Linked DNA regions of Homo sapiens: all the other regions are linked to region 1. The links are contacts of gene promoters, found by promoter capture Hi-C in blood cells and fetal thymus (Javierre and others, 2016). All regions are on one chromosome and are shown on one strand. Each heading gives the region's core, a stretch centred on a gene start or on the middle of the fragment in contact. The rest is flanking DNA. Distances are from core to core; before and after follow the strand shown. Region 1 holds the start of ARLN (allregulin). Region 2 has its middle 64 kb from the start of LINC01061. Region 3 has its middle 49 kb from the start of MYOZ2. Region 4 holds the start of MYOZ2 (myozenin 2). Region 5 has its middle 67 kb from the start of MYOZ2. Region 6 overlaps LOC102723967 (a long non-coding RNA gene).

Region 1 (4,578 bases), core at 1,557-4,056:
CCAGCCTGGCCAACATGGCGAAACTCTGTCTCTACTAAAAATACAAAAATTAGCCAGGCGTGCTGGCAGACGCCTGAAATCCCAGCTACTCAGGAGGCTGAGGCAGGGAGAATCGCTTGACCCCATGAGGTGGAGGTTGCAGTGAGCCAAGATCGCACCATTGCACTCCAGCCTGGGCGACAGAGCAAGACTCCGTCTCCAAAAAAAAAAAAAAAAAAAGAATTGAAGAGAACAATAACAACAAAATGAATAAATAAAATGACCCAGAAGATGGAGAAATAACCTGTGGTACCAATCAACAGGGTTGTTGCTAGGACAGGTACTCAACTTGAAAAGGAGGAAAAGACAAAGTTAAGATGAGAAAGAATAATTTAAGATAAACACATATATTTCCAGATGAAAATTACAGTAACCAAATTCTCCACTGTTGGAGAGGTTATTCTATAAAATTAATTTAATTCCTAGGATGATCATGAGGATGCTTTATCACATGGATATACTGGCTTGAGAGCTGCATACGAAAAATTTGCATTATCCCTTAGGTTAAAGCAAAATTCATCATCATCTCCCTCCTGAAAACTTATTGCACTTGAAGTTCAGAAGATCTGTAACGTCTTCTTAAAAACACTTAGCTGTCTTTGGCCTGATGGTTATAGCATTTTCATACACCACCTTCTCCACCCCAGCTCAATCAGATTAATTGTGCTGACAGAATTATGGAAGTGTTGGATCATGGTTGCAGTGCAATGATTCAATCTGTAGTCCCTGGTGCATATTTTTCAGTTGAACATGTGAAGTAGAAAGTTCAAGGTGGTTGGACAAGTGCCGAGGTATTGCATGACTGACAGTGAACCTGGATTTCAGTACAGTACTTTTTAAAATTTAAATTGCTTTGATAATGGCAAATGCCAACTGAGCAAGGTGGCTCATGCCTGTAATCCCAGTACTTTGGGAAGTCGAGGCAGAAGGATCACTTGAGGCCAGTAGTTCAAAATCAGCCATAACACACTCTAAACTCATTTCTGTAATGTGGAATAATCAACAATCAGTGGGACTTTTACAAGGGTAAAGTCGGAAATAGAATCTTTCAACTGAATTTAGTTTAAATAACCCCTCCTTATTTGCACTAGTTGCTCTTCCAAGTCTGGCAGACGTTCCTGACTCTAGAACAGATCATACTGTCAACATCCCCTCATGATGAGCATGTGACTCTGGGCCAAAGACAAGTTTAAAACCATTTCAAGACCTGTTCAGTTTATGTCATGCTTCTTCAACACTAATAATCTCAATAATTTTTTATCAATCCTACTTCAATAACTAGGAGTAATTGATCCTACCTTGTCAGCGAGAAGAATGCTTCCATCTCTGGTAGAGGCAATTGTTTATTTGCCTTTCCTAATTTTTGTAAAGATTCAATGCCACTTAAGCCCAGGGTCTTTTTGTCTACTACCATCAGACAATCTGTATTACAGCACACAATCTAATTAATTCTCAGGTAATGGCCCTCTCATCCCAGAATCTACAAAGCATTTTTCTTGAAAGGTCGTATACTATCTTTGTCTCTAAAACCTGGCAATTGATTTGGAGGCAAATTGGAGCAAGGTTAGGAAGCTATGGAACAGCTTTAAGAGTGCTGGATTTGGAGTTAATTTTAGGCTTTATAATTTTTTTAGTAACCTTAGACAATTCACTCCTTTTGTGTCTCATTTCCTAATTCTATAAGATGGAGTACTGCCCCTTCAAAGAGGTTTTACGACGATTTAATGACTTTGTAAAAACACAACTACAGTCTTATCTCCATTTACTATGCACCAAGAGAACCACTTATATGTCTGGGTGCCCGTTATTTTCTGAACAATTCAGGAATCATAATGTGACAAGAAAGAGAATATTTGAAATTGGACCCACGAGGTAAAATCCAGGCAGTATAGGTCATTTTCTTCCTGCTAGCATTCTGTTCTTGCTGAGGCTCACACTCAAAGTCAAATAACCTTTGGGTTATTCTTCCCACCCCCATTTCCCCCCAGATGGAGTCTCGCTCTGTTGCCCAGGCTGGAGTGCAATAGTGGCACGATCTCAGCTCACTGCAACCTCCGCCTCCCGGGTTCAAGCGATTCTCCTGCCTCAGCCTCCCGAGTAACTGGGATTACAGGCGCCTGCCACCACGCCCGGCTAATTTTTGGATTTTTTTTTTTTTTTTTTTTTTTTTAGTAGAGACGGGATTTCAGCATGTTGGCCAGGCTGGTCTCGAACTCCTTACCTCAGGTGATCCGCCCGCCTCGGCCTCTCAAAGTGCTGGGATTACAGGGGGGCGCGGCCAGGTTATTCTTAAACCCACTCCCTTGAAGTACCTGCAAAATGCTCACGTGCTGCTCTCTGGCCCGTTTGGAAACTCAGTCCCGTGAGTAGGACGTCCACCTCATTGGTGGTGTTTAAATATTAAGTGTCAAATGCTAGAGACAGTACAAAACCCACCAGAGGGGGCCTTCCTAACACGTTGGCATAAGGATCCAAACGGAATACGGGGATAGGAGAGGTGACCTCGTGCAGTTTCAGGGAGGAGTCCATCACCTGACTGGACTGGGCCTTTCAGGGGGACGAGAACGTATTTCTTCCAACGAAACCTGAATAACCAGCTATCTGCCTGGGACGCCGCGAGGCAGAAGTAGGCGGGCCCATTGACTTAGTGTCAAGGCGGAGGCCGCGCTTCATGCCAGCGGTCACGGAGGCAGCGGAAAGCCGAGCCAGGCGCCTGCGCGCTGGGAAGAGTAGGTTCAGAGTGCATTCCGGAACCCGGGGCGCGGCGCACTGCGCAGGCGGCCGGACTCCGCTCAGTTTCCGGTGCGGCGAACACCAAAGTCCGGGAACTTAAGCATTTTCGGTTTCTAGGGTTGTTACGAAGCTGCAGGAGCGAGATGGAGGTGGACGCACCGGGTGTTGATGGTCGAGATGGTCTCCGGGAGCGGCGAGGCTTTAGCGAGGGAGGGAGGCAGAACTTCGATGTGAGGCCTCAGTCTGGGGCAAATGGGCTTCCCAAACACTCCTACTGGTTGGACCTCTGGCTTTTCATCCTTTTCGATGTGGTGGTGTTTCTCTTTGTGTATTTTTTGCCATGGTGAGTATCTCGAATGCAAAATTGGGGTGGTAAGGAGCTTAGAGATCATTTGCTCGCTTTTGGGCGGGGAGGGGACTGAATTCCAGAGAGTTTATATATGTCCAAGATCACACAGCTGGTGAGTGGCGCAGTCGGGTGGGTGGGGGAGAAGGACTAGGAGTAAAATGTCCTTCTTTAGCACGTCCGTGGGAGTCTCCAAAGAAGTGTGGAGAAAACTTGGCGTCATATTTTCTCATGATTTGGAATGAAACCAGCTAGGCTTGAGTTCCTGCAGCACCATGAAGCGACCGGAGAAGTTATTTCGCCTTTTGGAGCTTTATTTTTTCATCTGCCATTTGGGACCATTAGTAACCCAGGTCATAGGGGTGTAGTGAAGATTGAGATCGTAGTGATTTGCATGTTGCCTGGCAGTAGTAAGTGCTCAACGAAAGCTATTTTTACTATACAGCTGTTTAACCATGAGCAGACCACGCAGCTGTCTCAAACTAAACATGTCCAAAACTGAACTCTTAACAGCTTCTTACCCAAATTTACTTGCCTTGCAGCGTTACCATTTCAGTAAACGCCAACTTTATCCACCGTTACCTCCCAGAAACCTGAGACACTTTGCCCTTTTCTTACACACATCCACATATCCTAAAACACCAAGTTACAAAATTCTGTAGAGTTTACTTGTAAAACCCATGCTCTCCATTTTCATCGCCACTCGCTCTGAAAAGACAATTCTGGCAGAGGGTAAAGGAAGGGAACTTAAGAGAATAGGGCAGGAGGAAGCAGACACCAAATGGAGATGGTGTTAAGAGACAAGCTAAGGAGAAGCAGTGAGATGAAACAGGGCTCCTATGGGAGAAGAGCAGTGTAGCCCATCTAGACAGCTCTCCTGGACTTTGGAGTTGATTGTTCACTCACTGTTAACTCCTTAGTCACCATGCCTATGAGTTACTTCTGAAATTCTCACTTCTTGATAGGCAGTCACTTCTTCTACACCCCCAACCCCCATCCTATATTTTCACCAAGATTTGGGTGTCTTAAGCCTCACTGTCTCATTTCTTGGATGGTGTAGTAAGTTAGAGAAGACAGAGAGGGCCAGGCACAGTGGCTCACGCCTGTAGTCCCAGCTACTTGGGAAGCTGAAATAGGAGGATTGCTTGAGCTGGGGAGGTCGAGGCTTCAGTGAGCTGTGAACGTGCCACTATACTCCAGTCTGGGAGACAAAGCAAACCCTGTCTCAAAAAAAGGGGTGGCAGGGGAGCGAGAGGGATTAATGGGAGGATGGCAAAAGGGATAGGGATTTCTATAAAATTCTCTGTCAAGCCATTTGTAAAGGGAGAGTTTTACTCTCCCTCCCTGTTTTGGTAGAGACTGATAATCTCAAATACAGTGGGTTTTGTGTGTGTGTGTGTTTTTATGACCTGAACTTTCAGCTCTGGATAGAAAATAGAGGCCTTACAAGAAATGTTCTA
Region 2 (4,604 bases), core at 700-3,199, 170 kb before region 1:
AAAGAAAATAATTTATCAGTCCAGACATGCATCAAGGCAGGCCTAGGGGTAGTATGGAATAGGGATCCAACTCATATTATGAAAGACAGGTTCTTATCTAGACTGTTAGAGTTTCAGTCTGGGACAAAACTAAGTCACACGAATAAACAGTCATGATAGAGGGATGAAGGCTATGCATGGGTCCGTGGATTCCCACTCCAAGCTGATACAGTGCTGCCTCTGTCAAATGTCCAAATGAGACCAACGATGAGCTCCTAATAACATCATCCCTGGAGGAGATCTCTGGCCTGTTGATTATTTTCAGCCTGTCCTACCCTAGAAGGGGTTGCAATTAAGCTTGACTGGAACAGACACATTTTGAGGGTATGGTTTTGCCTTTCCTGCTGGCAAAGCCTCAGCATCTGGGGGCTACAGAGTGTTTGATCCATTGTTATGGAATCCTGTGTGACATCACATCAGACCAAAGAACTCAGAGCAAAAGCAGTACACCCCTGGGTACATGATCATAAGATCCACTGGATTTATAACCTGCCACATAGCCCAGAAGCTGGCCTTTTGAAGGGACAGCTGAAGAACAAGATTGGAGCTGATATACTTCAAGGGTAGGGCTGCATCCTCCAAGATGAAGTATACACCTATTACTAATCATTATATGGTAGTCTGTCTTCAACAGACCAAATACATGGATCTGGAAACTAAAGGGTAACAGCAGAAATTGTCCTTTTGCCATCACTTCTCGCTCCCTCAACTCTGGGCTCTGTGAGTTAGAAATCCTATTTTTTAAAGGAAATGCTTCCTTCAGCAGACACAGCAGAAATTCCATTAAACTTAAGCTGTGGCTGCTACACAGTCACTTTGGGGTCTGTGTGCTGAGAGACCAAGGAAAGAAGTCACTATCCTGGCAAGAGTAACTGACCCAGAGCATCATAAAAAAGTAGGGTTGCTATTCTACACTGGGTACAGAAAGAAATATGTTTGGTACCCAGATGATCTACTGGAGCATCTTTTAGTAATTCCTTGCCCAATTTTGAAAGAAAATGTGAAATGCAGCAGCCACAGCTTGGGAAGCGCATAATGGTCAAGGTCTAGACTCTTTAGGGAAAGTCTCCAAGGACTTTATATTCTGGGGGAAGATATACCTTATTATAGCAAACCAGTGTAGTTACTAATATTTTTAATATATTAGTATAATTATTACAAACAGGAAAGGAACAAGAAACACAAAAAATCAAAACAGTAACTCTTGGTGGGGAGACGGACAGAGCTGAGATTGGGGATGAACACAGGGAACTTCAACAGTTTGGCAATTCCTCCAGAAGAAAACCCCAACATAAGGATTTGAGCATAAGTAGTTTATTCAGGAGGTTATCACAGGAAACACTAGTGAACTACTTATTTCCCTGCGAAAGCAGAGAAGACAGATGAGAAGAAAGTAAATCCATATAGGCTAAGTTAATAAGCGGGTTATTACTGTGGACAACTGGGGCTCGATTTCACGTGGAGACTGTTTCCTCTTTGAGACTATATAACCGCAATTATTTTTGCACCAATCTAATAAAATATCAGTGTTCCTACCTGAAGGCAGGGGGCTTGGATATTTATCCACAAGCTTTTCCTCATTATTAGTTGAGGGCTGTTCCTGGTAACCTTAACTCCCTGGCACTTCCAGCATGCTCTGCCTGCAGGAGATAAGCATATTTCTAAGGCTAGAGTGCACAGAGGCATATCATCTCAGGTGCTTAGAGGAGACAGCCATTACTGCCTTTTAGAAATACTGAGTACCAAGGAGATATGCCTTCTATTATACTAGTCTACTTCTTAAATTGGGGGTAGTAAAAAGGGTATTTATTGTATTATGTGTCCTATATACATGAAATGTATATTAAGTGGACATATTCCTTAAATTACCATTTTATTCTTTGCAAGGTGTTTGTTAGAAATGTGGACTTCTTAATATGTTTTTGTTTTCACCGATCTGCTCATTTGCAGCAATGGGACCATAGACTCCCTAGAGTCACTGGGCTGTAACACATTATTTGAAAAAGTTGGCCCTTCATTGCAGGAAGGCAGTTGTAATTAAGTTTAAATATGGTATTTTACCAAGCAGCAGGAACTAATTTGCAATAACTTTAGAAACTATATTTTAGGAAAATAGCATGATACGAAATTAAACTCGATTTGTGTGTCTGGTTTTTTTTTTTTTTTTTTAGTATGTGGATCATTTTTATATAGTAGGATTTTGGTATTTGGGGTTTCAGAGTTCATATACCATGGGCTATGAAAGCTTTTTTAATTATAGTTAACTCAAATTCCAATTATAGTATTCCAAGCAGAAACAGTTCTATAAAATCCTCTATTGTGTGGCTGGCATGTTACAGTTTCATTTATTAAGCCAAATGCACTATAGGCTAAGCTTAAGGAGGAGGATCATTCAATTGACCAAGGCAAACAGAGCTGACAACTGGACTATACTTTACAGAACAATACATTACAGTTGGACTCAAGGGGGAAACTGGGAAACGTGGTAATTTGTACCTGGTTACACAAATGGCCAAAGGTGCCTGAATTATTTTTAGAGAATTATTGTTGTCCTTTCAAAATCCTTAGAGCCAATAGCTCTACATAAGGTAAGTTAAACAGACAACAAATATTTATTCACTATATTATCCCTTTAATAGAACAGCTTTTAAAAAAAAAAAATTGAAGAAGTTTTTCAAGGTTCGTTTTGAAAAAAGTCCTAAAGCCTCTAATACAATGCATATCTGTATTCTTTAATACAAGTTTTAATATAATGCTCTGTCAACAACTACCTCCAAGGTAGCTGAAGGTTAATAAAACACTTTTTACAAAGGAATTGACAATTCACTAGCTTGAAGGTCCTTAATTGTTCTCTGAACAAGACCAGACTCACCAGTCTATATCTGAAGGTGGATCTCTATTTACATTGTCTAAAAATTGACCAGAAGCTGTGGAATAAGCTGTTTCAGAATAGCTCACAAAGGCTAAATCTATAGAGGTAGAGATGAGGGCATAATAGAAGAGTTGGTAACGTAACATGTTTAGTGGGACATTTCTAACAGAGATCATGAGAGTAAAATGCACTGTGATTCCCTTTAATTTTACCTACCAATTTTTGCCCAGGCCTATTTGATGAGGCAGACCAACTTAGTATGCCTTTGTAACTGTACACATTTCCATTTTATAGTCGTTAAAATGGATTAATCATTAGCATTTGAAGATTCTATTTTTTCTCCTTCATACACAAACCCAATAAATAAATGGACAGATGGATGGATGGATGGATGGATGGATGGATAACTATAATTTAAATTGGAAATTTTGACTGATACAACAATATACAAAATACATTTCAAAGTGAAACGTTGGACCAGAGAGCCTAAATTTCAAGGATGGTGACTGATATTAAGTTCTAATACCCACAACATAGATATGTAAGATTATGGTAATTGAGAGAATTTTGTGAGGATTATTTCAGTGGAAAAATAAATGTACTGTGAAGGAACAGTGATGATGGTTGTATGTACTACATTTCAAGATAGTCACTGAACTCCATAAGTATTTCCTGCACAATCTTGTATTTAAATTTTTGGTATCTTGTTCATCATGGTTTTTTATATTAATAATTATTTTTAAAAATTTTCTTAAGGTATGTTTATCTTGGCCAGGCACAGTGGCTCACACCTGTGATCCCAGCACTTTGGGAGGCCGAAGTGGGCAGATCACCTGAGGTTGCAAGTTCAAGACCAGCCTGGCCAACATGGCAAAATCCCGTCTGTACTACAAATACAAAAATTAGTTAGGCATGGTGTGCCTGTAATCCTAGCTACTTGGGAGGCTGAGGCAGGAGAATCGCTTGAACCCAGGAGGTGGTGGTTGCAGTGAGCTGAGACTGTGCCACTGCACTTCAGCCTGGGAAACAGAGTAAGATTCCATCTCAAAAAAAAAAAAAAAAAAAAGACATGTTCATCTTAATTACTGAGTTTTCTGGTACTTTCTTAAATTTTGCACTCAAAAGACATGTATTACTAATTCCACTCTAGTCACAGCCCTGACTGGGGGCATACAAGGTAATGCCTGACCCTTATCAGAGCCTGATAAAGCAGCCTACGACAGCAGGATAGAGGTAGGAGACCAGGAAGGTAGTGTATGCTGTTTTAATAGTGGGTCAAAAGTATGTGAATTCTAGGGACTAGATGAAGAACAAGAGGTAGAAATATCAGCCTAGGGTTATTTAAAGAGGTTTTCTGTCCAAGAGTGTAGTCTGTGAGGGCTGAGGCAACCTAGAAATAAATGGCTTTGGGATATACTCTTGCAAGACAGAAATTGAAGGGCACAGAGAGTGGCCAACTGAAACTGAGGCACTGCCACACTTGGAGAGTTAGACTGAGAGCCTGGGTGGTTGCAGGGCCCCTAACTCTCTGCTCTTTACCCTACCCTCCAATCCTAGAGGGGTTAAGCATGAAGGTTTATGGCATATTCTTCCTTGAAGACTGCTGGCCTGCCTACAGCCAGGTCTTGGGGCCTGCCTACAGCTAGGTAGTGGGCTGGGGAGGAGAACTCTTAATTTTGAATATATTAGACAA
Region 3 (4,474 bases), core at 1,037-3,536, 210 kb after region 1:
TTTTTGCAAAATATGCATCTGACAAAGGTCTAATATTCAGCACCTACAAGGAACTTAAACAAATTTACAAAAAAACAAACAACCCCACTAAAAAATGGCAAAGGACATGAACACTTTTCAGAAGAAGACATACATGCAGCCAACAATCGTATGAAGAAAAGCTCAACATCACTGATCATTAGAGAAGTGCAAATCAAAACTACAATGAGACACCATCTCACACCAGTCAGAATGGCTATTACTAAAAAGTCAAAAAATAACAGATGCTAGTGAGGTTGTAGAAAAAAAGAATGCCTATACACTGTTGGTGGGAGTGTAAATTAGTTCAGCCATTGTGGAAGACAGTGTGGCAATTTCTCAAAGACCTAAAGACAAAAATACCATTCTACCCAGCAATCCTATTACTTGGTATATACCCAAAGGAATATAAATCATTCTATTATAAAGACACATGCATGTGTATGTTCATTGCAGCACTACTCACAATAGCAAAGGCATGGTACCATTGCTACTGAAACTACTCCAAAAAATTAAGGAGCAACCTAATGCCCATTGATGGGCAATGGGCAACCTAAATGCCCGTTGATGACAGATTGGATAAAGAAAACATGGTACATATACACCATGGAATACTATGCAGCCATACAAAGGAATGAGATCATGTCTTTTGCAGGGACATGGATGCAGCTGGAGGCCATTTTCCTTAGCAAACTAACACAGGAACAGAAAACCAAACACCCCGTGTTCTCACTTATAAGTAGGAGCTAAATGATGAGAATACATGAACACAGAGAGGGGAACAACACACACTGGGACCTGTCAGAGGGTGATGGGAGGGAGGAGGGAGAGGATCAGGAAAAATAACTAATGGGTACTAGGTTTAATACCTGGGTGATGAAATAATCTGTACAACAAACCCCCATGACAAAGTTTACCTATGTAACAAAGTTGCACTTGTACCCTCTGAACTTAAAAGTTAAAAAAAAAAGGAAAGCAGGGGTTGGAGATGGAGCACTGACACCAAGAATAGGTGAAGGCAATTTCGATATTTGCACCTTTGGGAGTTTGGGACACCAGCTTTCCATGTCAAATGGTACAAAAGCTCCTGTGCCACTTCCAAAGTGCTTTGTAAGTTTCTTCTGTAGCAATTAAATATTGGGCTGCCTCTAGGTTAAGTCCTGCCTTCCTTTTCAGGTCTCAGCTCAAACATAACTTTCTCTGTAAAGGACTGGGTGCCCCTGGGATGTGTACTACATTCAGCACATATCACTGTTTATTTTGCTATTTCATTTACCTTTTTTGTCTCCTTCACTACTTGGAAGCTCTATGAAGGCAGAGAGTTGTAGTTCCCATGTCTATCCCAGTGCCTGCTTCGTTATACAGTCAATCCATCATTTCTGATGTGATAACTGTGGATTAAGTGGGTTTCTGCAGGTGATTGCCCCCAGGCAAGAGAGCTAAATAGCTATCAAAATTCCCCTGGGACAAGTCGCTGCGGAGCAATATATATTTAGGCAGAGCAGACTTTATTATATTATTTGCTGTCTACTTGGAGCCCAGTACATAATGTGGTTCTGTGATGGCATCAATGTTAAGAAAAGTGATCTTTCAGCCACAGAATCGGCGTTTATGAAAGCCAATGCTTAGTAAGTTCAGTCATATAATGTGTGGAGAGCTATGTTTGCTTCCTGTTGGTTTTATATATGAATGAGAAGTGTCCAATAACTGTCCTGGCACCAAATTATTAATTTTTTGTGGTACACAGATTACAAGGCCAGGATCTGGAGTCAGACTGCCTGGATTTGAATCCTGAATCTTCCACTTATTAATACAAATGTGAGCTCTTGGGGAGGTAAGGTGACAATTCTGTACCTTACTTTCCTTATCTGTAAAATGGAGTTTACAGTAGTAACTTCCTTATAGAATGACTGCGGGGATTAAAGAAGTTAATATGTAAGAAAAGTCTGACACATGGTAGGCACTCCCAATAATTAACTATTATTATTGCCATCTAGTGGTTCTTTTACTGTAGCAGTGGTTTTCCACAATTAAAGCTTAAAATGTCCATACTTAATTGATTAAGTCCTTCCTAAATGTATTTCTTATCTTGGTCATTCTCATCTCAGTAAAAAGTATGCCATCCATCTAATGGTTCAAATTATAAAAATCTAAACGTCAACGGTAACATCTCCGTTTCTTCCACAGCCCACACCAGATATATTTCCAAGGCCTACTGAGTCTAGCTCTCAAATTTGATTAAACTCTGTGTTTGTTCCATCTCTGATTACTCCACATTAACCACTGTTTGCCTGGACTTCTGCAGGAGCTTCCTAACTGGTGCTTGACCTTCTTTAATTCATTGCCCCAATTTTTAAATGCATAGATCAAAGCAGTTTACTTCCAGCTAGGAAGCCTCTGACATCCCAGTGCTTTTAAGACAAAATTCAAATTGCTTATAACCTACAAAGCATGCCAAGCCACTCAAGAGCTGTGAGTTTGCCTACTTCTCAAAGCTTTTGTTGCCAAATTTTTCACCATCAACTGCTAGGGCCATGGTCACGTGAGCCTTTCTGTTTCTTGTCCACAGCAAACTCTTTCTTGTCGACAAGACTTGCTGTTCTCTCTGCCTGAAATATTCTTCCTCAACTCCTTACAAGGCTGAGCATATTAGCCTTGAGATCTTAGTTAAAATATTAAGTGCTTGGAGAAGGGTTTCTTTCCCATTGCTGTTTCTAAGATGGCCTTTGTTATTTACTCTCTCTTTTATCCACTGCTTATTACTTTCCTGGAACTTATTATTTATTTGTTATTTTTATTATCTGTATTTCTTGCTACAAGCACCTCCATGAGGGCAGAAACCTTATCTACCTTTTCACCACTGTTACCCTTTTGACTAACAGAGTACCTGGCACAAAATATAAACATAATAAATATTTGTTGGAAGAACTAAAAGACTGAATGAAGTCTATTGTGGCAAAATTGGTTTGGAGATCAAGAAACCATAGCACTCTCAGTTTATTCATCTATTCGATAAGCATGTATTATGGACCTCCTATAAGTCATTCACGTATTCTTTAGGTGTTGAAAAATAAAAGGTGAGCAAGTCGTCATCTCTAACATTGACTAGAAATGAAGTGTTATGGAAATGCAGAGGAGGGAGTGACTAACTGCTTAAAGAATGAAATACTTTAATGAGTGATATTTGAGTTGCTTTTTAAATTTTATTTATTTATTTATTTATTTTTGAGACAGAATCTTGCTCTGTCACCCAGGCTGGAGTGCAGTGGCATGATCTTGGCTCACTACAACCTCTGCCTCCTGGGTTTGAGCAACTCTCTTGCCTCAGCCTCTTGAGTAGCTGGGATCACAGGTGTGCATCACCATGCCCAGCCAGTGTTTGTATTTTTGTTAGAGGCAGGGCTTCACCCTGTTGGCCAGGCTGGTCTTGAACTCCTGGCTTCATGTGATCCACCTGCCTCAGGCTCCCAAAGGGCTGGGATTACAGGTGTCAGCCACTGCACCTGGCCCTTGAGTTGCTTCTTGATGGATGAATAGGGTCACAAGCTGGGAAAAGAGAAGAATACTTTAGACAGAAGAGCATGCTCAAACATATAAAGAAGGAAACATAAACAGTAGGATTGGGGAAATAGATTGGCTGGTTGGAGTAGTGGTTCAAAGGGGAGCTGGGAAGATAGATAGATAGACTTGTGCTTGATAAGGCGGTACTGGGCTTTTCAGGAAGGAAAAGGAAACAATTTTGAGAGTTTAAGTGGTTCAACATTAACAGATCTAAGTTTCAGAAATATAATTATTATAGAAAAAAGAATAAAATTGGAGGCAGGGAGACATCGATGGGCTATTTTTATTTTTAAATTTTAAAAATATATTTAGAAGATACAGATGTCGTTTTGTTACGTGGATATATTACATAGCAATGAGATCTGGGCTTAACCCTCACCCAAATAGTGTACATTGTATCCAGCAAGTAATTTTTCATCCTTCACCTCTCACACACTCTCCCACCCTTCTGTCTCCAATGTCTATTATTCCACTCTTTATGTCCACGTGTACCTATTAGTTAGCTCCCACTTGGGAGTGAGAACATGCGGTATTTGACTTTCTGTTTCTGAGTTATTTCACTTAAGAGAATGGCCTCCAGTTCCAACCATTTACTGCAAAAGACAAAATTTCAGCCTTTTTTTATGGCTGATTAGTATTCATACACAGACACACACACACACACACATATTTGTATATATATTTCACATTTTCTTTATCTAATCATCTGTCGATGGACACTTAGGTTGATTCCTTATCTTTGCTATTATGAATAGTGCTGTGATAAACATACAGGTGCAGGTATCTTTTTGATATAATGATTTCTTTTCTTTTGAGTACATACCCCAGTAGCAGTATTGCTTGGTAGATTGAATGTTAGACCTATTTTTAGTTCTAGGAGAAATCTCCATGCTAT
Region 4 (5,072 bases), core at 1,562-4,061, 160 kb after region 1:
AGGACAATCCAGGCAAAATTTGATTTATTTAGTCTTACAATTAAGATCAAAGCAGTTGCATGTTTTATCTTAAATTATCCAGATTTTTACTCCTGTAAAATGTTTGAAAGTTTGGAGGATCATTCCCAAAAAAGTTTCTCTGAAGTCCATTTTATTATGCATCCTGAGAAAAAATTATACTCCCCTAGCTCCAGATCTCTAAACATCATGCTATACACAAATAGTAAAGTTCCATATAAAATGTCAGAGGAAATAAGAGAAGAAAAATATTTGAGCGGTTTCATAAAGTACTGAAGTTATTTCATCTGGGATGAGCTTGGAAAGAGTCTGATTATCCCCATGTTATCTGAAATACTTGACATTCCAACAAAGACAGAGCATGTGACTCCTCTTAAGGGAGCTGGTACTCATCCAGTGACATGGGAGGGAGGGCTTCAGCTGACTTTACGTGGCTAGGATTTACTGGTGGTGAGATAGTGGTTTTGAGGGTTTCCCCCACTTTGATATATAATTGTGTGTTTTCTCCCACATATTTTTTATAAAAACAATAGTTATGTTTATAAAAAAAAGGAAAAAAAACTTCTTACCCTTATAGATCTATGTCAGAGCTAACAGTAGATTCCAACACATGATTTAGGCTAGAATACATTAAATGGACTGACTGTTTTATGATTAGGATGTCATTAGAAAATAATAACATGAAAGGTCTATTTTAAGGTAAACAATTTTGTCACAAACTCCAGTGATCATCTGATTTTTGCCACATTGATCAGAAAAGCTAAAAAATAATTTCAAGTAAACTACTTGAATCTGGAAACACAAAGATGCATGAAATTTTAAATAAGGCATGAATTTTGGAACTTTGGATTGGTATGAATTCAGTTCTGGTATCTGACTCAGAATTATTCTCATTTTATTCCAAGCTAATTTGACATTACAGTAAAACATGAGAACCAAGTTGAATCCAGTACAGTGGTTCTGTATTGCAGAAAATAGAAAACAACAACGGACCTCTTAGTTATGATTACATTGCGTGGGGAGCATCTAAAAGTCTTTGATTCTGTTCCTCTTGCTTTATGGAAGGTGTAATATGAAAACATTATGCTCAATACTCTTCCCGGGTCTCAAGCTTCTAGGTCTCAATATTGTAGTGGTGAAAGGCTGCATTCCTTGTCAATACAGGGGAAATAAGGAGGCATTCTGAAAATGCCACTAATATATCTGGAATGGCTCAAATCAGCTCCTAAGAGGACCTGAATATTTTTCTTAACATTTAAAACTGATGCTATACGTTGCTTATAAACAAAGTTGAATTTCCTTTATAAGAATCAAAATGCAAGTTATAAAGCATTGCTTTCTCAAGTTAGTTGCTAGAATTTAAAGAAAAGGAGAGAGTGAAATATTACCTTGCACGTAATATATATTAAAATTTTTTTGAGTCATATGCTTTGAGACTACAATAACTTTATATTTTCTCAGAAGTTACAAATAAAAGTAGACTTTGCACACAAAATATGTTAGTAAATCAATTAACAAATATGAAGGGTTAAATAAATAAGCAATAGAAATGGAGTTAAATAATAAGCAATAAATATGAATTCCAACTTAATAGCTTGATAAAAAAGATGATAGAACTTATTTTGAGTGATTTATATAATGTAAGGTAAAAGAAATCAAGCTAAACCATGTGGGATGGACAATAAAGACAAGATTGTATGAGACTTGTCCAGAAAAAAAAAAGAATCGAGAGTGATCTTAACTTATAATGTGGAAGGCAAGCCAAGCAGAATGTACATCAGCTGTCAGATTGCTTCATGCCTTTTACAGCAGTTGTTCCTCTGAAAATAGCTTCCAAATGAGAAAGGATGACTACAAAAGGATTAGTTACCATAGGCTTTTCTACACCCCCTAGAGCTCCAGGTTTGTTATGACAGAACAGCAAGAATCTAAAGGAAGTAAACTATGGAATATTAAACAACGTCAGGATGGAGCCACATTCATGCTGTGCTATATTAATGCTACGAAGGATTTTTATTGATACCATTTCCATGGACTTCCTTCATGATGGCTGTTGCTTGCTGTTTTCTCTGCTTCATCATAGTATTATGTGATAGCATGGTTTTTTTGTTCCCTGTTAAAAACAAAGGGACATTATTGAGGCAATGTGAAGAACTCATTTGGAGTGTCTTATAATCACTGTTTTGAAAGACAACATCTTTGTTCTTTATTAAAAAGTTATTATCGCTTGCTACTGAAAGACTTCAATACGCATTCCTTATCTGGTGACAGAGTATGTTATTCATTGACAGGCAATGTCACAGTGAACAGAGACCCAGTCTGGACATTAATACAATGATCATCAGGCAGTGAGAAACAATGAAATTGCTGGTCTCCTTTCCCCTCCCTCTCTTTTCTCCACAGTATTTTAGTCTGTCATTGTCTCCTCACTGGCCTTCATTTGTACCAGCATCACACTCCATCAATTCCAGCAAACTGTAAGAATGAAGAAGACACTAGACTAAACCAGAATTCTTTGGTGGTAGCATTTTAATATTGGCAACAGCTGCCCTTTAAAGCAGAGAATGCCCATTTATGAGTCACAACTCTGAATATCCTTGGACAACTGACTAATGAAACATTTTAGGAAACAACATACTCACCTTGCTGTTAGATTGTGCTTTTTCAGCGGGGATGAATCCCAGTTTGTGGAGGAAGACTCTGGAGATGGACTATGGATGGCACTTGGGCCTGATGGTTTTTATCCTTGAACCTGGGACAGCATGGTCCCTACTCTGACTCAAACTGGGGACTGAGCTTTTCTGAAGAGACTGGCATTCAGCTGACATCAACTGGCTATATATAGCACCAAATACTTTAGCTACTCATATCTTCCTGGCGAAAGGGAGGAACAGGGAAAGATTAGGCTCTCTCCATTGTGTTTCTAGTTTGTGAGATGGTTAAATGAAACGTTCATTGGACATGCAGAAAGTTTTTAGTGAGCACTTTCTGTTGAACAGATAGTAGCCAAAAGGGATTTTAAACACTTTTAAACATCTAGCTCTTATGTTACATGTTAATTGAGGTGGCAAGAGACACATGCATGAATCAGAACAGAATGATAGATTTTTCATAATTAAAATGAACAATATAGGCAGTAATATCTATGTAGACTCAAGAAGAAAGGAAGTAATGTGGGGTGGATCAATAGAGCCAGTTCTTAAGCTGTAGTGAGAACTCATGCTAGGTTGAGAAAAGTATGTAGTATTTGAATAGTGAACTCAGGAAGCATTTTGAAATGAACCATTAGAGGATAAGCCATGAAGCTGGGTAAAAGCTGAGACTCATAACTGGGTCATGCTTTTTGAAGGGCCTACAGAGACCAGTCCCTGCAAAGTTGACCAGTCTTTACAATGTCTAGGGTCAAGGATTTTCATTTGCAGGCCTGACAAGATTTGAAAGGTTTGCCTGTCAAAAGGTTTGGCCTCCTTGATGGTCCCTGGACACAAAAACGTGCTCTCATCTCTGGGCTTTTCCTTTTACTGTTTCCCCCTTTCCTTTTACTATTTCCCCCTTTCCCTGGTTGAAATGGTGTCCTCAACAGATAATCATTATGTTAATTTTGGTTTCCAAAATGAAAATAGATACTGTATTCCTTTTACTATTTCCCCCTTCCATACTTTCCCTCTACTCACATGGCACAGTCATGCATTCAGGACTCTGCTCAGATAACAATCCCTCATAAAATCCTTCCCTTATCACCTTGTCTAAAATATCACACTGTGCCACTCTCTAGTCCCTTACTCTGCTTCATTTTCTTTATATTTTTCTATTAGTTAAGATAAAAGTCAAATGGGAGTGACAGAAACCCCCCCAAAACAGAACTGTAAAAAGATGGAAGATGTTTCTCTCACAGGTAAGCTTAGTCTAGAAGTAAGTAATTGAGGGTTTGCATGACTGACATAATTATCAAGGGCTCAGTTACCCTCTAACTTTTTGCTCCACTATCCCTAAAATGCAGACCCCTTGGGCCTAATTGGCTGCCCCAGCTCCAGTCAGCATGCATATATTTCAACCAGCAGGAAAAAGAAAAAAAAATGAGAAGGGAACACTGTCTTCTTTTCAGAACATGTCTGATATTTTGTTCATACTTCTGTTTACATCCCATTGGGCAGAACTTAGCCATATAGCCGTACATAACTCAAGAAAGGTTGGGAAGTGTAGCTTCTATTCTAGGTGGTCATGAGCCCAATTAAAATTCATACATAACTTACTAACAAAGAAATAATTGTTGCTGAGTGACAACTCAGTTTTTTCACTAAGAACATGCCAACATTATTCTATCTATCTATCTATCTATCTATCTATCTATCTATCTATCTATCTATCTATCTAGCAAAAGTTTATGTTATGTACAATTCTAAAGGTTGAAATGGCGTCCTCAACAGTTTTACTAGCACCTGTAATCCCAGCTACTCTGAAGGCTGGGGTGGGAAGATTGCTTGAGTCCAGGAGGTAGAGGTTGCATCTATTTATGTGATATCTCTTTTTTCTACTAAACTATGAATCCTATAATGGCTTGGGCTTTGTATCTTCAGCAGTTGGAATTGTATCTGGCATATGGTAAGCACTCAATATTCATTGAATGAATGAATAAATGAGTAGGTTGGAGATTAACTGCAGAATGCATTAAAGGTTTGGCATGAGTTTGGAATTCAAATGAACAGTCGCTTGAATGTACAAAGGTGGTGGCTATTTGTGGGAGGAATTGTATTTTATAAGATTGAAATCGGTTATACATTTTGGTGCCTGATCATAGGATTGAAAGTTTAAGGTTGTAAATCACAGCACTTTGGGAGGCCAAGGTGGGTGGATCGCTTGAGCCCAGGAGTTTGAGACCAGCCTAGGCCAGCTAGCAAAACTCTGCCTCTACCAAAAAAGCAAAAACAAAAACAAAAAACCCAAAAATTAGCCAGGTGAGTGGCATGCACCTATAATCTCAGCTACTCCAAAGGCTGGGGTGGGAAGATTGCTTGAGTCCAGGAGGTAGAGTTTGCAGTAATCCATGATCAAGC
Region 5 (5,079 bases), core at 1,462-3,961, 230 kb after region 1:
ATTCAAACTATTCTCTCCAGCTATTTTGAAAAGTACAATAGATTATTGTAAATATAGCCACCCTATTGATCTAACACTACATCTTATTTCTTTTATCTAACTATATATTTGTATTAGTTATTTTTAAATGTGTTTTGTTTTAAGAATAATTCTTAAATTGTTCCATTGCTTTGATTTGGAAGTTTGTCCCCTCCAAAATTCATGTGAAACTTAATCCCCAATGTAACAATATTAAGAGGTGGAGCCTTTAGGAAGTGATTAGCCTTAGGAAGTGATGAGGGTTCACCCTCATTGATGGGATTCGTGTTTTATAAGAAGGCTTGAAGAGGTGAGTTCAACTCTTCCATTCTTTCTGCCATGTGTGGATGCAGCTAGAGGTGCCATATTGGAAGCAGAGTGCAGCTCTTGTGAGATACCAAGTTTCCTAGTGCCTTGATCTTGGACTCCAACTCCAGAACTCAGAAAACATATTTCTGTTCTTCATAGATAATCGAGGTATTCTGTTATAGCAGCAGGAACAGACTAAGACAATTCTATAGCAGAGTAATGATAAAATAGGAACATGTTACAAATTCATATAAGACTTATTTTTGAGAAAAAATATTTATTCATACTGTAAAAAGTGAAAGCTAAATGTATTGTTTGTTTGCAACCTCCTCGGGCAAAGTATCTATAAAATCTGTTCCTATCTGTTCCTAAAAATCTGCTTTTTCCTACATGATAGCATTTTGGAACTTGAACAGTTAATTCTTATTCATTTCTCAGTCTTCCTTTGTATACAAAATGAGAAATTCAGATACATTGCTTATTCAAATGTATTGTAGAAGAACCAGATGAGTTTCATTCGAAATATGAAAATTTTAAACATCACAACCAGAGAACACTGCCGGACATGAAATTTCTGCCACTCTTTTTTGTGATTTTCTTTATCAAGTTCATGCTGAACATGGGGTTTATCTTAGCTGGGCATTGAGTTTTGGTGGTTTTATCACAAAATTAGGATTCTTTTTCCTTTCATCAGCCTTTTATTAAGCATCAACTTCAATAAATCATAGGCATTTTGTATTGCTACTTATCATAGCCATAGTTACTGTAGATAAAACCAGAGAGAGAGAACTTTTGAATTCAAGGATAAAGAGGCATCTAATTGCCATAAACGTCCAAATAATAAAAAGTTATGGAAAAAATATACCCCTTTTATTTATTTTTAAACTATTATTGTTCTCTGTCCTATGTACTGGTCTGGCAGAAAGCTGTGGTATGAATGACATGTAGATCAACAAGAAAAACTACCAAGCCAACCTCTTAAAATGAGGCTAGTCCTGACAGGTCGAGGATCAGCTCTAGGTGCTGCAAAGCTTCTGCAGAATACTGTGATTTGGTTTTCTACGTTGTTTCAACAATGATTGCTTCATCCAAGTGGGGGCAGGGGCAGTACCAAGGATGGCCCTTTACTTCCTGACACACGCACTCTGCGTTGAACAACTACCCCTGAAGATTACACTTATAGCTCAAGTATCCAAATCAATATTTTTTTCTAGAAAAGGTGATGCTGAGAAAAGGCTAAGCAGGTTTGCTAGAACACTGTGATAGATTAACTGCAGAATTCTTCCTGTAGGATTGGGGATATAACGGGCTTCACTAACCTTCCCTAGGCAGTGAAACATCCCCCAAATCTGATGGATCTAGAGTCAGGGAAGTCTGCTTTTGTACCTGCTGGGCCCCAAAGTTGGGCATTTTTCTCTCTGTTCCCTCTCTTTTGAAAATGTAAAATAAAACCAAAAATAGACAACTTTTCCTTCAGCCATTCCAGCATAGAGAACAAAACCTTATGGAAACAGGAATGTCAATTGTGTAATCATTGTTCTAATTAGGTAAATAGAAGTCCCTATGTATGTGTTACAAGAATTTCCCCCACAACATCCTTTATGACTTAAGTTCAATGACAGTTTGCCTTTGGTAGTAAAGGATTTTCTCCATGGCCTGTATTAAGACCATTAGAAAGCACCAGGCCATGGGAGCAGTGATCATCTGCTGACTGTTCTCGTGGATCTTGTGTCCAGGGACATGGGGCGATGTGCCTCGTATGTGTTAGAGGGTGGAATGGATGTGTTTGGCACTGCATGGGATCTGGTGCCCCTCTTCTCCTGGATTTGCATCCCCACCCAGGGCCCGCTTTTACTAAGTGTTCTGCCCTAGCTTGGTTCAAGGAGGTCATCCAACTGACTTTATCCAGTGGAATTGGGATATATTTGATATACTTTTGCCTAACAACATGGAAAAGGGTTTTCCTTTCCCTGCATCCTACTGCTTTGAACTTCCAAGTATGTCTACTCACCTTTTAAAATGTAAACATTTTCAGAAAAATGAGGATTGCTTTCCTTGTATGCACTTTTTATCTTGACTACCTGAATTGCAAGGAATTTTTATATATTCATATGTTCCAAAGTCAGCAACTCTCCTGTTGGTTCATTATTGAATGTGCTGTAAATTAAGTCTTTTGCAATTAAAATGAGGTTTGCCCACATCCAAAAAAAAAAAAGAAAGAAAGAAAAGACTAAGCAGGAAATCCTATCTCTATCTCTATATGTTCATAGTACTATAGACAAGCTTCTTCAGGGGGAATTTAGCCTAAAATAAGATTGTGCCTTTCCTTACATATAACCTGTTATACTTTGTTTGGTAATTTAGAGCAAACCTCATGCTTATTCAAATGATCATGATGAGACAATACTGCCTTATTTTATAAAGCCTCTTCAGACTCTCAGTAAGACAAATAAACTGTGACATTTTGAGGAGTCAGTGAAGCTTTTTCCTCTTGGACAGTGGTGGGAGTAAAGTTTATGGAGAAGGGGGACAGAAAAGTCAAGAAGAAGAAAAGTACAATATAGCAAATCTTTACTACAACTTTAGAGAGAGAAAAAGTGTATCAGAGCAAGATACATTGGAGGCATTTCCTCCTTAAATGCCCTTCATAAAATTACTTGATTTTTATTGGGGGAGGGAGGAAATTGCCAGATCCTTTCTAAAAATATAAACTGTCATGTTTTATAGGGCTATAAAAAATGAAACGCCACTTCATGGTAAGTACTGTTCTGTTAAATTTGAGAAGTCACAGATCTTGTGATTTTCCAAAATTGCAGAGAAGGAGCATTTTGTGCTAAATGCTTCTGTTATTATGTGGACTAGGGAAACACTGACTAATCTTCAGGTATTTCTGTTGCTGTCTTCCTGGGAGACAAGCAAGGGAATTGAACTCTCCTTGCCTCGGGCTGCCTGTTGGCGCTGTATGCAGATGACACCACCTACCTCTCAGTATGTTTTGAAGTTTATTGTTTAGTAAGCACTAGGATTCCTTAGAAAAAACAGGCTCTTTATATAGCATTAGCATTTTAAGGTAGTCTAGTACTCTTAACTCATTTAAATGTTTAAAACACTCTTCGTTCTTTTTCTTTTGTTTTTTCAACAGAATCTCACTCTACCGCAGTCTGGAGGGCAGTGGTGCGACCTTGGTTCACTGCAATCTCTACCTCCTGGGTTCAAGTGATTTTTGTGCCTCAGCCTCCTGAATAGCTGGGATTACAGGTGCACACCACCATGCCTGGCTAATTTTTATGTTTTTAATAGAGAGGGGGTTTCACCATGTTGGCCAGGCTGGTCTTGAATTCCTGACCTCAAGTGATCCACCCACCTCGGCCTCCCAAAGTGCTAGAATTACAGGTGTGAGCCACGCACCCAGCCTCATTCTTAAAGTAAAGTTTTCAAGTACCAGCCTTTAAAAAAATATTTTTTGACACATATGTGATAGGTGGAGCCAAGATGGCCGAATGGGAACAGCTCTGGTCTACAGCTCCCAGCGTGAGCAACGCAGAAGACGGGTGATTTCTGCATTTCCATCTGAGGTACCGAGTTCATCTCACTAGGGAGTGCCAGACAGTGGGCACAGGACAGTGGGTGCAGCGCACCGTGTGCCAGCCAAAGCAGGGCGAGGCATTACCTCACTCGGGAAGTGCAAGGGATCAGGGAGTTCCCTTTCCTAGTCAAAGAAAGGGGCCACAGACGGCACCTGGAAAATCGGGTCACTCTCACCCTAATACTGCACTTTTCTGACCGGCTTAAAAAAAGGCACACCAGGAGACTATATCCCACACCTGGCTGGGAGGGTCCTACGCCCACGGAGTCTCGCTGATTGCTAGCACAGCAGTCTGAGATCAAACTGCAAGGCGGCAGTGAGTCTGGGGGAGGGGCGCCTGCCATTGCCCAGGCTTGCTTAGGTAAACAAAGCAGCAGGGAAGCTCGAACTGGGTGGAGCCCACCACAGCTCAAGGAGGCCTGCCTGCCTCTGTAGGCTCCACCTCTGGGGGCAGGGCACAGACAAACAAAAAGACAGCAGTAACCTCTGCAGACTTAAATGTCCCTATCTGACAGCTTTGAAGAGAGCAGTGGTTCTCCCAGCATGCAGCCGGAGATCTGAGAACGGGCAGACTGCCTCCTCAAGTGGGTCCCTGACCCCTGACCCCCGAGCAGCCTGACTGGGAGGCACCCCCGAGTAGGGGCAGACTGACACCTCACACGGCCGGCCGGGTACTTCTCTGAGACAAAACTTCCCGAGGAATGATCAGACAGCAGCATTCGCGGTTCACGAAAATCTGCTGTTCTGCAGCCACCACTGCGGGTACCCAGGCAAACAGGGTCTGGAGTGGACCTCTAGCAAACTCCAACAGACCTGCAGCTGAGGGTCCTGTCTGTTAGAAGGAAAACTAACAAACAGAAAGGACATCCACACCAAAAACCCAACTGTACATCACCATCATCAAGGACCAAAAGTAGATAAAACCACAAAGATGGGGAAAAAACAGAGCAGAAAAACTGGAAACTCTAAAAAGCAGAGTGCCTCTCCTCCTCCAAAGGAACGCAGTTCCTCACCAGCAACGGAACAAAGCTGGATGGAGAATGACTTTGACGAGTTGAGAGAAGAAGGCTTCAGACGATCAAACTACTCCGAGCTACAGGAGGAAATTCAGACCAAAGGCAAAGAAGTTAAAAACTTTGAAAAAAATTTAGACAAATGTATAACTA
Region 6 (4,752 bases), core at 535-3,034, 200 kb after region 1:
TTTTCCTTACCATGTTCACAGCCTCGATCGCTACCAACAGAGGTAATACAAGGCAATAGAGGCAAGAGGCACAACCAATAAAAGGGTAGTAGGCCCTTGGTTGGGTTTTCAAGTTACATATCTGCTCTGGTTTATGGGCTTTCTATGAGTATATGCTATTTCTTTTTCTTTGCCAAGTCACCTGTTTCTCAAGTCTTGGCTTAGGACATGTGGTAGGCAGGGAAGCATGCCACTGGCTCACAGGGAACTGTGTTTGTTACCCTTGTTCTCTGTTATTTTTACTGTATAAAGCATAAAGAACCCTGCAATTATGATGCTTAATCATTTATACTCTAGGGCTGAGGAAGGGAAGGATTATTCCCTCTGTTTTTTTATTACTATTTTTCCTATGGTCTTTCTACTTTGCTAAACAGTTAGATTTCAAGATACTACTTAACAAAGCAATGATCTACATGTTGATGTCTGACATGCAAATAATCCCCAAGAATAACTGGAAGTTTTAAGTAATATTTGAAATATTAAATTACTTAAATATCTGAAATAACACAGAGATAAGAAATAGAATTTGTTGTAGAAGTCACATTGGTCACCAAAGAGAAGCAAAACATTGTGTGTAATGTCTGCTCTAAACCTGGTGGATGATTTTGAAGAATTTGAGAAATTACTTCTTTCTAAAGAAGAACTTAATAAAGGCTCTGAATAGCTGAAAACTAAATGAATAAAATTAAACTACTGTATTACACAGGTCAACTTTTTCCTCACTTATAAAACCCAATTATTAATTATGCATCAGACTGCATTAATTGCTACATATATACCTTATGCATAACTTTTATATGTATATTTTTTCTTGCTTAATGTTCACAGCAATATGCATGGATCAGGCATTACTATCCACATTTTGCAAATGAAAAGTCTAAAACTTAGAGCAATTAAGAAGCTTTCCCTCAACCTAGAGCTAGTAAACAGACCCAAGATTTGAAGCTAGGTGTGTTGGCTAAATCTACATACCTAACCCCCATATTATAGTTTTTCCTTTGTGGGTTTTTTTGAAAAAAAAAAATTTAATCTGCATTTTATATTGTACAAAAGTGAACTGGCTAAAGCCTTCATTCTTTCTAATTACTATTTGCTTCTGAACTAAAGCTATAAACTTTTATTATATTTGGTGAGCATTTTTGAATTAAACTAGAAGATTAGGATACAAGTTCATGGACACACAGTATAAAACACTTTTTAAAAGACACTGGCACACTCGTTCTCACCTAGACAACAGATCATAGTTTGAAAATCTGTTTTTGTGAAAAAAGCTGAACCCTAGCTCTTGAATTAGCTATCCCAGTACCCATGTTGAAATAGCTCAAAAACATTCCTAGGAAAAATACTCCTAACTTAGTGGGAGTGGTTTTATAATAAAGGGTGAATTACTTTTGCTTTATGGATCATTCCTTTTTTTTTTTTTCCTTAGTCATCTGTTACTCTTAGCTGCTGGTAATGGAGAGGAAATGGTCTTACATCATTTTTCAAGCATGTTTAGTATTAGGTCATTGTTAGTGGATGGAAGGAAGTTGAATGCTTGGAATTTAAGTGACTTACTCAAGATTACAACAGTGAGTCATTTACTCAGCCAAAAAGAGAGCAAGGAACTTCCTGGATACAAGTGTGGTGTGCGCTGGCAGCTCCATCTGCCCCTTCTTTATTGATGCCTTTTCAAAACTATGGGCTTTTTGTGAAGGCCAGATGGGTTTGCCCTTGAGTGTGACCACCACTCTGCTCCGAGATACATCAACTTGAATGAGGATTTGTTTTGATGGTTGGCATATAAGCCTCAGAGTTTTATTTTGAGATGTTAAATCTAAAAGCGAAGATTACATGTTGATTGCTAATTTCTTTGAACAAATTTTGCCCTAAGAGTTTATTGTAAAAATTAACTGGGCATGGTGGTGGGCGCCTGTAATCCCAGCTACTCAGGAGGCTGAGGCAGGAGAATCGCTTGAACCTGGGAGGCGGAGGTTGCAGTGAGCCGAGATTGCGCCACTGCACTCCAGCCTGGGTGGCAGAGCCAGACTCCATCTCAAAAAACAAACAAAGTTTATTGTTCCTGAAGGACGAAGTCTTTGAACTTCAGGTAGTCATGAGTTGAGGTGTGGGTATAAGGAATGGGGACAATGTGCCCCACTGCCCTCTTGTTTTGAAACATAGCTTACAACCATTACCCATTCACTTGGTATAATGTAGTATTTCAGGATAGGCACGGTTAGTTCTGACTCACACAGGTATCACTGTTGTCTGGACATGAATGATTTCTAGAGTTCATTTCTCATGAAACATGTTTTTATTTGCAGGGCTTTAGAGCTTTGAAATTAATTCTACATTATACATTGATGATTCTTTTGTCAACTTTGTTTTTCTCTGTCTATTCCTAATTCTATCTACCATATAATTTCTGTATAGTAGTTGTTTCCATCACAATTTTTTTCTGTGAGCTGTGATTACATAAAATTAGCCTTGTTGACTTATACTTTGATATCTTTCTTGAGACAAGCCAGCGATGACCCCAGTTGGACTGGAACAACAGACCACTTTGTTGGTGTCTTTTAATACAGCCAATACTAATAGGAAGCTTTATCTTTCTTAAGTATCTTCTTTCGCTTCCCCTTCACAGAACCTTACAGGGGCCCCATGGATCAGCAATATTGCTTATTAAATATAATTTCAACTTTTAATAAGATTTTCTAAATTCTTCTGATCACTTCCTACTTTCCTTACATAATGACAGTCATTGCACATCAGAATACAGGCCCTCAGTCCAGCAATGTGATTTTCGTTCTTATGCTCAGGTCATATGATATTCGTCAAAGTGGTTGCTCCCTCTACTAGTCACTCTTGGAATGTACTCCCACCCCCACTCCAATGACATCTCTCACCTCCTCTAAAAATCATTTTCTGCTGTGGTGTTCTTATCTGCCCATGATAGTTATTATATTTATTGTCTTCAGAGAGTAGAAAACAGAAAAAGACCAAGAGGGTAACTGTAGTCAGTTTAATTCTGTCTCATCATCACTTCCCGTCAGCAATCCACATTCCCCCAACCATACATGACAACTTACTTGCATCTGTAACTTTATGTTTTGCCCTCTTTCCTATTACAAGAGGTGAATTGTCCATTTTTTTTTCTTTTTTTTGAGACAGGGTCTCACTCTGTCACCCAGGCAGGAATGAAATGGCACAATTACGGCTCACTGCAGCCACTATCTCCTGGGCTCAAGTGATCCTCCCACCTCAGCCTCCTAAGTAGCTGGGACTACAGGCATGTGCCACCATGCCTGGCTAATTTTTGTATTTTTTGTAGAGACAGAGTCTCCCTATGTTGCCCAGGCTGGTCTCAAACTCCTGGGTTCAAGAAGTCTGGCCACCTAGGCCTTCCAAAGCGCCAGGATTATAGGTGTGAGCCACTGCTCTAGGTCCATGGACTTTCTTCCTGCAGTTATCCTCTCTTTTTCTCCATTGCTGTTGTTTTTTCCTTCCTTTCTTCCTTCCTTCCTTCTTTTTTTTCTTTCTTTTCTTTTCTTTCTTTCTCTTTCTTTCTTTCTTTCTTTCTTTCTTTCTTTCTTTCTTTCCTCTCTCTCTCTTTCTTTCTTTCTTTTCTTTCTTTCTTCCTGATGGAGTCTCGCTGTGTAGCCCTGGCTGCAACCTCCGCCTACTGGGTAAGTGATTCTCCTGTCTCAAACCCCCGAGTAGCTGAGACTACAGGCGCCCACCACCATGCCGGGCTAATTTGTGTATTTTTAGTAGTAGAGACAGGGATTTCACCATGTTAGCCAGGCTGGTCTTGAACTCCTGACCTCAGGTGATCCGCCTGCCTCGTCCTCCCAAAGTGTTAGGATTACAGGCATGAACCACTGCACCCAGCCCTGTTTTCTACTGGAGTTTTTCCATCATCATAGAAACATGCTATGCTTTTTTTCTCACATCAAACAAAAGCAAAATACCTTGCAAATAGAGACAAGCACAATAAAACACCTTCTGTGGTCCTTTTCTTTGCTCCCTTTTAACATAAAAATTTGTCTACACTTGCTTTCTTCAGTTTCTCTGTACTGCTCCATGGAAACTGTTTATTGTCATGGTCACTAAGTTGCTTAAGCAAGAATCTTTGAAGTCATCCTGGACTTCCTTCTTTCCTTTGCACTCCACAAACTATGGCTTACAGGACAAATTGGCCTGTCATGTGTTTCAGTAAATAAAGTTTTATTGGAACACAGTCATGGCCACATGTTTGTCTTTCTGTGACAACTTTTGCATTACAATGGCAGAGTTCAGACGTCCTAATGGGGACTGCATGGCCCTCAAAGCCTAAAATACTTACTATTTGGCTTGTTATAGAAAAAGTTGGCCAGCCCCTACACTAAAATATAAATCTTACAAAGGAAAGTGCTTTGTTTTGTTCCCTGCTATATCTCCAGTGCCTAGAAGAATACCTGGCACTTAGCAAAGCTTAACAAATACTTGCGGCAGAAAGGAAAAAAGAAAGAATGAATAAGTAGTCTACGTCACCATCTTGTTCTTTACTCTCTCTTATTCAATCTTTGTCGGTTCTCATTGTCCTTTCTCCATTTTCCATAAACTCTCTCCTCGGATTTGTTTCTTCCATTAAGCTTTTTCTTCATGCTCATCAAATTTCCAACAGGAGGAAAAGTCCTAAAAATTGCTAAACAAATTTTGGAAATACGAAGCTTAAGTTAGAGAAATTTT

Evidence for each region. The method cuts DNA at HindIII sites, captures the fragments that hold promoters and counts their contacts. A CHiCAGO score of 5 or more calls a contact.
Region 2: a contact is called between a fragment that was not itself captured here and the fragment with the promoter of ARLN in region 1, in 1 of 17 cell types (naive CD4 T cells). The highest score is 5.4, in naive CD4 T cells.
Region 3: a contact is called between a fragment that was not itself captured here and the fragment with the promoter of ARLN in region 1, in 2 of 17 cell types (M0 macrophages and M2 macrophages). The highest score is 6.2, in M0 macrophages.
Region 4: a contact is called between the fragment with the promoter of MYOZ2 here and the fragment with the promoter of ARLN in region 1, in 9 of 17 cell types (total CD4 T cells, non-activated CD4 T cells, activated CD4 T cells and 6 more). The highest score is 8.9, in total CD4 T cells.
Region 5: a contact is called between a fragment that was not itself captured here and the fragment with the promoter of ARLN in region 1, in 4 of 17 cell types (M1 macrophages, M2 macrophages, endothelial precursors and 1 more). The highest score is 8.0, in M1 macrophages.
Region 6: a contact is called between a fragment that was not itself captured here and the fragment with the promoter of ARLN in region 1, in 2 of 17 cell types (total CD4 T cells and monocytes). The highest score is 5.6, in total CD4 T cells.

Annotation. Positions count from the first base shown.
Region 1 is chr4:119,298,873-119,303,450 of GRCh38, reverse strand. It overlaps ARLN (allregulin), which reads left to right and starts at 2,806. Exons shown (of 2, transcript NM_001001701.4): 1 at 2,806-3,115. The coding sequence starts at 2,916. RefSeq lists enhancers at 2,833-3,062, 3,163-3,212. The HindIII fragment of the contact is 14,870 bases long and covers 1-4,578 here.
Region 2 is chr4:119,472,157-119,476,760 of GRCh38, reverse strand. It overlaps the pseudogene SEPTIN7P14. Among named protein-coding and RNA genes, the nearest start is that of LINC01061, 64 kb to the right of the region's middle. The HindIII fragment of the contact is 675 bases long and covers 1,612-2,286 here.
Region 3 is chr4:119,084,834-119,089,307 of GRCh38, reverse strand. No RefSeq gene overlaps it. Among named protein-coding and RNA genes, the nearest start is that of MYOZ2, 49 kb to the left of the region's middle. The HindIII fragment of the contact is 459 bases long and covers 2,057-2,515 here.
Region 4 is chr4:119,133,571-119,138,642 of GRCh38, reverse strand. MYOZ2 (myozenin 2) reads right to left here and starts at 2,811. Exons shown (of 6, transcript NM_016599.5): 1 at 2,661-2,811; 2 at 2,042-2,131. The coding sequence starts at 2,117. The HindIII fragment of the contact is 2,789 bases long and covers 1,132-3,920 here.
Region 5 is chr4:119,066,791-119,071,869 of GRCh38, reverse strand. No RefSeq gene overlaps it. Among named protein-coding and RNA genes, the nearest start is that of MYOZ2, 67 kb to the left of the region's middle. RefSeq lists an enhancer at 3,040-3,856. The HindIII fragment of the contact is 198 bases long and covers 2,613-2,810 here.
Region 6 is chr4:119,100,296-119,105,047 of GRCh38, reverse strand. LOC102723967 (a long non-coding RNA gene) reads right to left here. Exons shown (of 3, transcript XR_001741422.1): 2 at 4,555-4,708. Among named protein-coding and RNA genes, the nearest start is that of MYOZ2, 33 kb to the left of the region's middle. RefSeq lists an enhancer at 1,420-1,714. The HindIII fragment of the contact is 1,683 bases long and covers 943-2,625 here.